2 separate regions of the Homo sapiens genome follow, and region 1 is linked to region 2. The links are contacts of gene promoters, found by promoter capture Hi-C in blood cells and fetal thymus (Javierre and others, 2016). All regions are on one chromosome and are shown on one strand. The core of a region is centred on a gene start or on the middle of the fragment in contact, and the rest is flanking DNA. Distances in the headings are between cores, read along the strand shown.

Evidence for each region. Contacts are between HindIII fragments. The CHiCAGO score rates a contact against its expected background, and 5 or more counts as called.
Region 1: a contact is called between a fragment that was not itself captured here and the fragment with the promoter of TAF9 in region 2, in 7 of 17 cell types (naive CD8 T cells, total B cells, fetal thymus and 4 more). The highest score is 10.1, in naive CD8 T cells.

The regions. Positions count from the first base shown.
Region 1 is chr5:72,308,010-72,313,469 of GRCh38, reverse strand. All of the region lies in intron 2 of MRPS27 (mitochondrial ribosomal protein S27), which reads left to right. Among named protein-coding and RNA genes, the nearest start is that of MRPS27, 9.5 kb to the left of the region's middle. RefSeq lists enhancers at 963-1,463, 5,109-5,358 and a silencer at 4,769-5,058. The HindIII fragment of the contact is 929 bases long and covers 3,746-4,674 here.
Region 2 is chr5:69,367,197-69,370,769 of GRCh38, reverse strand. It overlaps TAF9 (TATA-box binding protein associated factor 9), which reads left to right and starts at 1,250. Exons shown (of 3, transcript NM_003187.5): 1 at 1,250-1,307. It overlaps AK6 (adenylate kinase 6), which reads left to right and starts at 1,250. Exons shown (of 5, transcript NM_016283.5): 1 at 1,250-1,307. The coding sequence starts at 1,280. RAD17 (RAD17 checkpoint clamp loader component) reads right to left here and starts at 952. Exons shown (of 19, transcript NM_133338.3): 1 at 837-952. RefSeq lists an enhancer at 149-698. The HindIII fragment of the contact is 4,867 bases long and covers 769-3,573 here.

The sequences.
Region 1 (5,460 bases), core at 2,961-5,460, 2.9 Mb before region 2:
TACTTTAGACTTTTGGTACTGCCTGCCCTTTGGTATATATAACATCATCGGAACATTAATAAAATAAATAGATTGGTGATAGTTTTATGAGACTGATGTAATTTTTGGATCAATTCCTATGCTGATCTAATATATTCCCCCAGATTTCTTTAGCTGTGTTTTGGGCTTATGTCAGTTAAGAATAAAGTCCCCTGTGTTTATGGATTTTTCCCATAAGTGCAGGAGACATTGCTGTCTCTAATGGCTACCTTATTGGGATTTTCAAAGATCTCATCCTTTTCTTTACTGATGATGTGATTGCACAAGCAGAGTTGGCTGTGAGCTCTGAGATGGGTGTATGTGCACAGGCCAGCTGAAGCAGAGCTGTGGAAGATCTGAAGATAAGTAATCGCAGCTTCTCCATGAGAAACTTACAGTCTCATTCTGTCTATAAGAGGCCCAGGGTAGCCTTCTTATAACAAGTACTTTATCATACTCTTCTTTTGCCATCTTGAAACTAAATTCATAGTTAATATAATCTATCTATACTTACTGTTTTAAAAACCAGTATATGGCTGGGTGTGGTGGCTCACACCTGTAATCCCAGCACTTTGGGAGGCTGAGGCTGGTGGATCATGAGGTCAGGAGTTTGAGACCAACCTGGCCAAGATGATGAAACCCCGTCTGTTAAAAAATACAAAAATTAGCCGGGCGCAGTGGCAGGCATCTGTAATCCCAGCTACTCCGGAGGCTGAGGCAGGAGAATCGCTTGAACCCGGGAGGCAGAGGTTGCAGTGAGCCGAGATCTTGCCACTACACTCTAGCCTGGGCAACAGAGCAAGACTCCATCTCAAAAAAAAAAAAAAAAATCAGTATGATTCCTTCGCCACGATACAGAGGAGAAACAAAGGGGAAGTAACTTAAACAATATGTATTTCAATTTGTAAACAAATGTCCAGGCAAAACTACAGTAAGAAACAATGAAGCAGGTAAATATTGCATATAAATGTGGAATAATTATAGACATGGAAGAAGTGTAGATGGGTAGAGATGCGGTATACTGGCAAATTCAAATACCAGGAGTGGCGCTATCATAATGACATAATTTTATTTATAGAATGAACAACTCTTGGTAAAGTTCTGATTGATTCAAAGGTATGTCTTCCCTCAATATAGAGTTGCAAAATTCACCTTATTTTCCATTAAAAAAACTTTGCTTATATGAAAAATGGAGTTAGTTCCATTAATGATAAACAGGTTGTTTTTGATGGTATAATTATGTCACAAATGACATGGCAAATTTTTTTAATCTTTTAATTTGGAAATAATTTTGTTGTTGTTATTGTCATTGTTGTTGAGACAGAGTCTGTACTATCTATCGCCCAGGCTGGAATGCAGTGGCGTCATCTCGGCTCACTGCAACCTCCGCCTCCTGGGTTCAAGCGATTCTCCTGCCTCCACCTCCTGAGTAGCTGGGGTTACAGCCGCACGCCACCACGCCCAGCTAATGTTTGCATTTTTAATAGAGACAGGGTTTTGCCTATTGGCCAGGCTGGTCTTGAACTCCTGGTGTCAGGTGATCTGCCCACCTCAGCCTCCCAAAGTGCTGGGATTACAGGCTTGAGCCACCGCGCCCAGCGGGAAATAATTTTAAACTTATAAAAACTGCAAAGAACTCCTCTATATCTGTCTTAGTTTGTTTTCTGTTGTTTATAACAATACCTGAAACTGGATCATTTATCAAGAAAACGAATTTATTTCTTACAGTTAGAGAGTCTGAGAAGGCCAGCGTTGAGGGGTGGCATCTGGTGAGAGCCTTCCTGCTGGTGAGGACTATTCAGAGTCCTGAGGTGGCTCAGAGCATCACATGGCGAGGGGGCTGAGCATGCTAGCTCAGGTCTCTCTTCCTCTTATGAAGCCACCAGTCCCACTTCCGTGATAACCCATCAATCCATTAACCCATTAGTCCATGAATGGATTAATTCATTCATCAGAGGAGAGCCCTTATGATCCACTGGCCTCTCAAAACTGTTACACTGGGGATTAAATTTCAACATGAGTTTCAGAGGAGACAAATATTTAAACCACAGCGCTACTTTTACTCATGTTCACCTGTCGTTACCATTTTGATTCATTTGTTTTTGCTTTCTCTCTCCTCCTTCCCCCTGTATACACACTTTCTTTAATCATTTGGGAGTTTGTTTCATATATTATAGCTCTTTATCCTGAATACTTCAATGTACATTACCTGAGATAAGGACATTCTATTGTATAATCATAGCACAGTTACCAACTTCGGAAATTTTGACATTAATATAATACTTTACTATTCATATCCCAGTTTTGGGAATTGACCCAATAATAGGGTCTCTCATAGCATTTTTCCTCTTCCAGTACAGGATGCTGTCTAGAATCATAGTTCCTTATCCTTTCTTTGTTTCTTATGACATTGTCCTATATATTTTTAAAGAACCCAATCTCTTTTTTTAAATAGAATATTCCTCTTTCTTGGATTTTTCTGCTATTTTCTCATTGTTATGCTTCCCCAGCCAGAATACTCTCAGTGATGTTGTGCCCCTGCCAGGGTATCACATGTGGACATACCTGATATCATATGCCTTCACTGGTGATGTCAGTTTTGATCACCTAGTCAACTGTGTCTGATTTCTCCACTGCAGAGTTACTGTTTTTCTCCCTTCTGATTAATAGGCTATTCTCGGAGAGAGACTTTAATGTAATGCAAATATGTTGTTTATCAAAAGTTTGCTCTTAGATTTGGCATCCATTCATGGCTTTAGCCTGAATCAATCTTTACTATAATGGTTGCAAAGTAATGATTTTCCAACTCTGAAAATTTCTCCAGATTTACTAGCTAACACTCAGTATTCTACTATAAGCAAGAACTCTTCCTTTTCTCTCATTTCTTTCTCATTTATCTGTTTATTATCATGCATTATGTTTAAATCATCAATTTGTGAATTTTTTAAATGATTCATTACCCTTCTCAATTATTTTGGTGGTCTAAATATCCCAGACTTGGCTGATAGAAGCCCTTTCAAGCTGGCTTCCATTTTCCCCCACCCCCCTCTTTTTTGATAACTTACTTTCTCTCATATAACAAGGTGTTTCAGGCTCACTGTGTACCCTTCCTGGCCTAGCCCTGGAATCAACCATTTCTCCAAGGAGCTCTGGTTACTTTTGGTGAGGAATGGCATTAGAAACCAAGATCTAGGTGCTAGGTGTCCTTTTGCTACTGTGAAATTTTTGCTTCTTGGCCCATTCAGTGAACAGTTCTGGAAAAAAAATGAATGCACATACACATAAACATACATGTACACATATGCATATACATATACTATATATATTTTGCAGATAATGAGTTCACACCAATCCCAAGTTCATCCCTATGGGATTCTTCTTGCCTTGCTCCAGTCCATATTTGTATCTCCCGTCTTCCATACTGACAGCCCTGGCTCCCACTAGAGACAGTGTTTTGATGTACGGGACAGTCTCAGCATTGCAGGTCATCTGAATTCCCTGTTTTCTGTCCATTAAGTGCCAGTAATGCCTTTCAGTCATTGTGACAATCAAGACCAACTTCCACATATCCTAAAATGCTCTGTAGGGCCAATACTATACTGTTCTAGTGATCAGACCAGTATGGACTCATAGTTATACAGCAAGGCGTGTTCGGATGTGCCATATGTGAATTATAAGCAAAGTGCAGTGAAGTACAGATAAGGGAATGACGAATTCCAGGAAAGCTTATTAACACTTTCCTAGGTATGTAGGGAAGATTAGGAAATGAGGCCACTAGGTTTGGTGTCTTGGTGTTGGGTATAGTCAGTCACACAAATCCAGGGAACATTGTCATGGATACCTGAGTAAGCAGTAACTGTTTGCCAAATAATGAGTATAATAATCTGCAGCGGGGCAGCACGCAGTGGCACACGCCTATAATCCCAGCACTTTGGGAGGCTGAGGTAGGCAGATCAAGTCAGGAGTTCAAGACCAGCCTGGACAACATGGTGAAACCCCGCCTCTACTAAAATTACAAAATAGCCGGGCGTGGTGGCGCACACCTGTAATCCCAGCTACAATGGAGGCTGAAGCAGGAGAATCGCTCGAACCCGGGAGGCAGAGGTTGCAGTGAGCCAGAGATCACGCCGCTGCACTACAGCCTGGGCGACAGAGCTGACTCTGTCTCAAAAAAAAAAAAGTCTGCAATGAGTAAATATCACATAGAGACATTTGTTCCCTTTCCTCAGTTAAGACTAGTTTTCTTGGAAAAGCAGTACTAGCCACCATTTACTGAATTTTTCCTGCCACCGAGACAGCTGTCCCCTCTGCCTAGAATATCTTTGTATATCCTGAATCTCTCCAGTCAGAATCGATGTTTCCTGCCCTATATTCTTTCAGCACTTTGTGCCTTCCTTGTGTATGATGTGCTGAAGTCTGCACTTGGGAGGCCGACTTCTGGGTGTCAGTCCCAGTTCTGCGGCTTTCAGCTGTCACACTCGGTTTCTGTGCCTATAAATTAGAGATGATGGTAATGCCTGCCTCTCCGTCTGACATGCAGGTGCTTCAGAAATATGTGCACTGAGGAGTCCCTAAGCCCCTTGTTTTTAGCCCTCTATAAAACGTGTGAGGTGAAATAATGTTTTGGAACTCACACTGCTTGGAACAAAGAAAGCTTTTGAGACTTTTTCCTACTGTGTACTGGAAGGTAATTATTGCCGCTTTTTTCAAAATGGACATTGTTTTCGGTTTTACTCGACGACACTACTTGTTTTCCCTCATTTTTATTTGAGCGTTTGGGTTGAGCTACTGGCACTTAGCAGGGAGGCCGCATGGTAGGGAGAGCGCCCGTGGCTCCAGCTCTGGAGATGGGACAGTAGGTGGCAGTGTGGCCCCTGCGGGAATCCGCCGCCCCGCGGGTGGAACGCGGCGAGTGGGCGCGGGGCTGTCGGGTAGCGTGCGCGCGCAGGGCCGCGCCCAGCATGTGGAGCGCTGTGATTGGGCGCCGCCAGCCGGAGGGCCGTGAGGTGCTCAAAGCGGGCTCGCTGATTGGGGGACGGAGGAGGGCCGATATGAGGCTTTCGCCGCTCCCATCCCCATTGGAGATCGAGGCAGCAAGGGACACTGCGGCGTGTGGGTGTGGGCTTCATGTGCCAGAGCGCCGTCTCCCCTGAGCCGTGCCCTGCCGGGGAGTACGGCGAGAGAGAGGTTCTGGCCTCTCGGAGTGGGCTTGCGGTTCCGGTGCCCCCTCTCTTCGTCCTCGTGGCTGATTGTGCCAGAGAGCTCCTCGGGGAGGGCCCTAGCGTGAGGGCAGTTTCCCAGCGCCGGGGCCGCGGTGGACGCCAATGCAGCTGTCTAGGACCTGCGCCCGCGGTGCGTCCAGAGGGCCCCGGCGCGAACGTCAGAACGCCGCCCCGTTCCGCGCTCTCAGCAGCCAGCCAGGGCCGCTGCCAGTTCCACCGT
Region 2 (3,573 bases), core at 1-2,500:
TGTTCAGCCCTCCGCCCCAAATCGTTCACGATTAGAGACTGTGACGTTTCAAAAGGTATACAGGTGGAAAAAAAACACCTATTTGAGTAAATATAGTTTGTAGCTCGAAATAAAAGATGCAGACCAGGGGCCGGACGCGGTGGCTCATGCCTGTAATCCCAGCACCGTGGGAGGACGAGGCGGGCGGATCATCTGAGGTCAGGAGTTTGAGACCAGCCTGGCCAAAACATGGTGAAACCCCGTCTCTATTAAAAATGCAAAAATTAGCCGGGCGTGGTGGTGGGCGCCTGTAATCCCAGCTACTCTGGAGGCTAAGGCAGGAGAATCACTTGAACCCAGGAGGCGGAGGTTGCACTCCAGCCTGGGCGACAAGAGTGAGACTCCGTCTCAAAACAAAACAAAAACAAACAAACAAACAAAAAAAGGTGCAGACTGTTGTCACGGTCAGGTCTCTATTCACTCTTGAAAACAAGATTGACAATTACCTCCTTTAAAAAGCAGATAACTGTCCCTGAAGATGCGAGGTTACTGAAATGAGATGTCAGAGGTAGACCTTCAAGACTATTCCTAGCCGACCCACCACCACCCCACACAGTGAACAGGGAATACTAAGCTCAAATATTCGTCCAACGTAATCCTGTAATCAGTGGGGTGCCGGGTTGAGCTCGCAAATCCCCGCTGCAGGACAGGGCTCTGCACCCTCAATCTTCTCATCCCCAGATGGGATGGGCGGGTCGGGAGGAGGAGCGACGAGAGCCCAGGAAAGCTTGAAGGCAGAGATAGACTCACGTCTCTAAGACATATACATAATATAGCCGCAACCGCGGCGGCCTTACTTTCCCGGAGCTGCATCCCCTTTTAGGCGAAGAGCGGAGGCGACCAGGGACTACCCTAGGTGAAAGGGCAGCCACCTGGCCCTACCCGGGCTCAACGCCGAGCCTCTCGGAGGTACGGCCTCCCGGGGACCTTCCAGACTGGTCGGCGCAAGCGAAGGGCGGGGACCACCGAAGGAGTGTGTGACTTAGGCATCCAGCGCACTGCCTGACCCGAAGTACCGACCCGAGTTATGCCCACCCTCCAACTTTGCGACGGAAATGTGTCATCGAAAGCCAGGTAACCAGTGGGCCGCGGCTGGGCCGCCGGGGCAGGCTAGGGGCGCCGCGGTGGGCTTCGGGGCCTTTGGGGCCGTGGGCTTTTGCTGCCGCCCGCCCCTTCCGGCTCCTCCCTGTAGAGCAAAGGGCACGTGAGCGAGGCGCCCGAAGCCGTCGCGGCGGGGACCATGTTGCTTCCGAACATCCTGCTCACCGGTCAGGGCGCGCGGCCGGGAGGGACTGGGCTGGGGCAGGCTGGGGGCGCAGAGTGCTCTGGGCATCGGGCGCCCAGGTGGGGGCCCCTCACTGCCCTCTTCAGAGGCCGGCCGAGGGCCACGAGGCGGTTGTCAGCGCCCCGGGAGCCGACCCTCGCGGGCGTTGCGGGAGGCGAGGGAGGGGACGCGGAACGTTAATTCCGTTGGCCTGAGGCTCCGGGGGGGGGCGGGGGGGGGTGGAGAGAGGTCGGCAGATCCAGCTCTCCAGCTTGGCAACCTGCTTAGTCTTTCTGAATCTGGTATTTCGTTTGTAAAATGGGTTGTTGATTCTTTGGCAGGGTTGGCCTTGGGATTTTTAGCGAAATAACGTAAGGCCATATCTGCTTCCCGGTAGAGTCATTAATGGTGGATGCCTCACTCCTTAGGCCTCCGTGGGCCGTATTTTATTTTTTCTTTGCTTCTGATAAACGCCTCAGATTAGATTTCGGTAAACGAGTTCAGATGTTTGTGACGTGACGAAATTGCTGTATGCTTTTGTTGAGTTACATCAAAGGATCCCCCCGCCCCTTAAAAGGAAGGCATATAGAGCATTTCGGGTCGTTTCTCGCGTAGGAGTGGGTCTTTGAAGCCATACTCAGGGTGCATGTTATCAGTGAAGGGAATTAAAATGCTGCATAACGACTTTAACGAATATTTTTGCTAGCCGTTTAGTCCTGAAAGTGTTTATCAAATTGTAGGCCATTCGTGGAAAAATCTAATGCATGTAGATTTTATTGCAAGGTACAGAAAAATTAAGACTCTTTGTGGGAACAGTAAAGTTACATCATTCACCCAAAGGTAAAATTGTTGGCAGCGCACAAGACATGTCTGTTTCTGAGAGGTGCAGATTAACCACCCCACAAATAACGTTTAGAATTTTAGATTCCTTAAGCGGAAGATTTTACATCTTTTTGCATGGATCAAACATAGTGCCCTGGTTATTAAGTCATTGTCAAAACTTTAAAGTGAACATTTTATTGAAAACATGTTGAGTCCAGGGTTCAGACTTGGTGTATTATAGTGGACTTGAGGTGACCGTTATTCTCCTGGGTATGGGAACTGGATTATCCCTGTTATCTTTATGCTTAAGTTTAATTTCAGGGATGTTAAATCTGAATAGCTGAAAATTATGAATTTGATGATCTTGAAATGTAATTTTAATAGGTATCAGAAGGGGAAGGTAAAGAACAATGTATATAGTATTGTCATTTATGTAAAAGGGAATATGTGTTGTATTTATATAACAAAGAGTATGTACATATATGTACATTTACATGCAAACATAAATAGGGTTTCTTTGGGAAAGGAAACTGGTTTACAGTGGTTATCTCTAGGGAAGGGCGCAAGGGGTCAGTAGAGGTAATTTTCAGACTGCTTAATTTTAACATGAACAGTTTTGTTTTTGTTCTTGTTTTTGTTTTTGTTTGAGACAGAGTCTCATTATGTTGGCCAGGCTGGTCTCGAACTCCTGCGCTTAAGCGATCCTCCCGCCTTCTCCTCCCAAATTGCTGGGATTACACGCGCGAGCCACCACACGTGGCCATGAACAGTTTTTAAATCTTTATAAGTTAAAGCAAATAGGCCAGGTGGGTGGCTCATGCCTGTAAATCCCAGCACTTTGGGAGGTGGAGGTGGGGAGATCGCTTGAGCTCAGGAGTTTGAGCTTAGCCTAAGCAACATAGCCAAACCCCGTCTCTACAAAAATTAACCAGGGCATGGTGGTGCATACCTGTGGTCCTAGCTACCGGACAGGCTGAGATGGGAGGATTGCTTGAGCCCAGGAGGTAAAGGCTCTAGTGAGCCAAGTTCCACTGCACTCCAGCCTAGGTAACAAAGAGATATCTTGTCTTTAAAAAAAGAAAAAGGTAAATAAATTATTGTAATTGATTCGAGGTGGCTAATTTTTTTTTTTTTTTTTTTGAGATGGAGTCTCTGTCGCCAGGCTGGAGTGCTGTGGCGCGATCTTGGCTCACTGCATCCTACAACTACCTGGTTCAAGGGATTCTCCTGCCTCAGCCTCCTGAGTAGCTGGGATTACAGGCACGCGCCACCACGCCCGGCTAATTTTTGTATTTTAATAGAGATGTAGTTTCACTATGTTGGCCAGGATTGTCTCAATCTCCTGACCTTGTGATCTGCCCGCCTCGGCCTCCCAAAGTGCGGTGATTACAGGCATGAGCCACTGCGCCCAGCACGAGATGGCTAATTTTATTCTCAGCAGTTCCCCG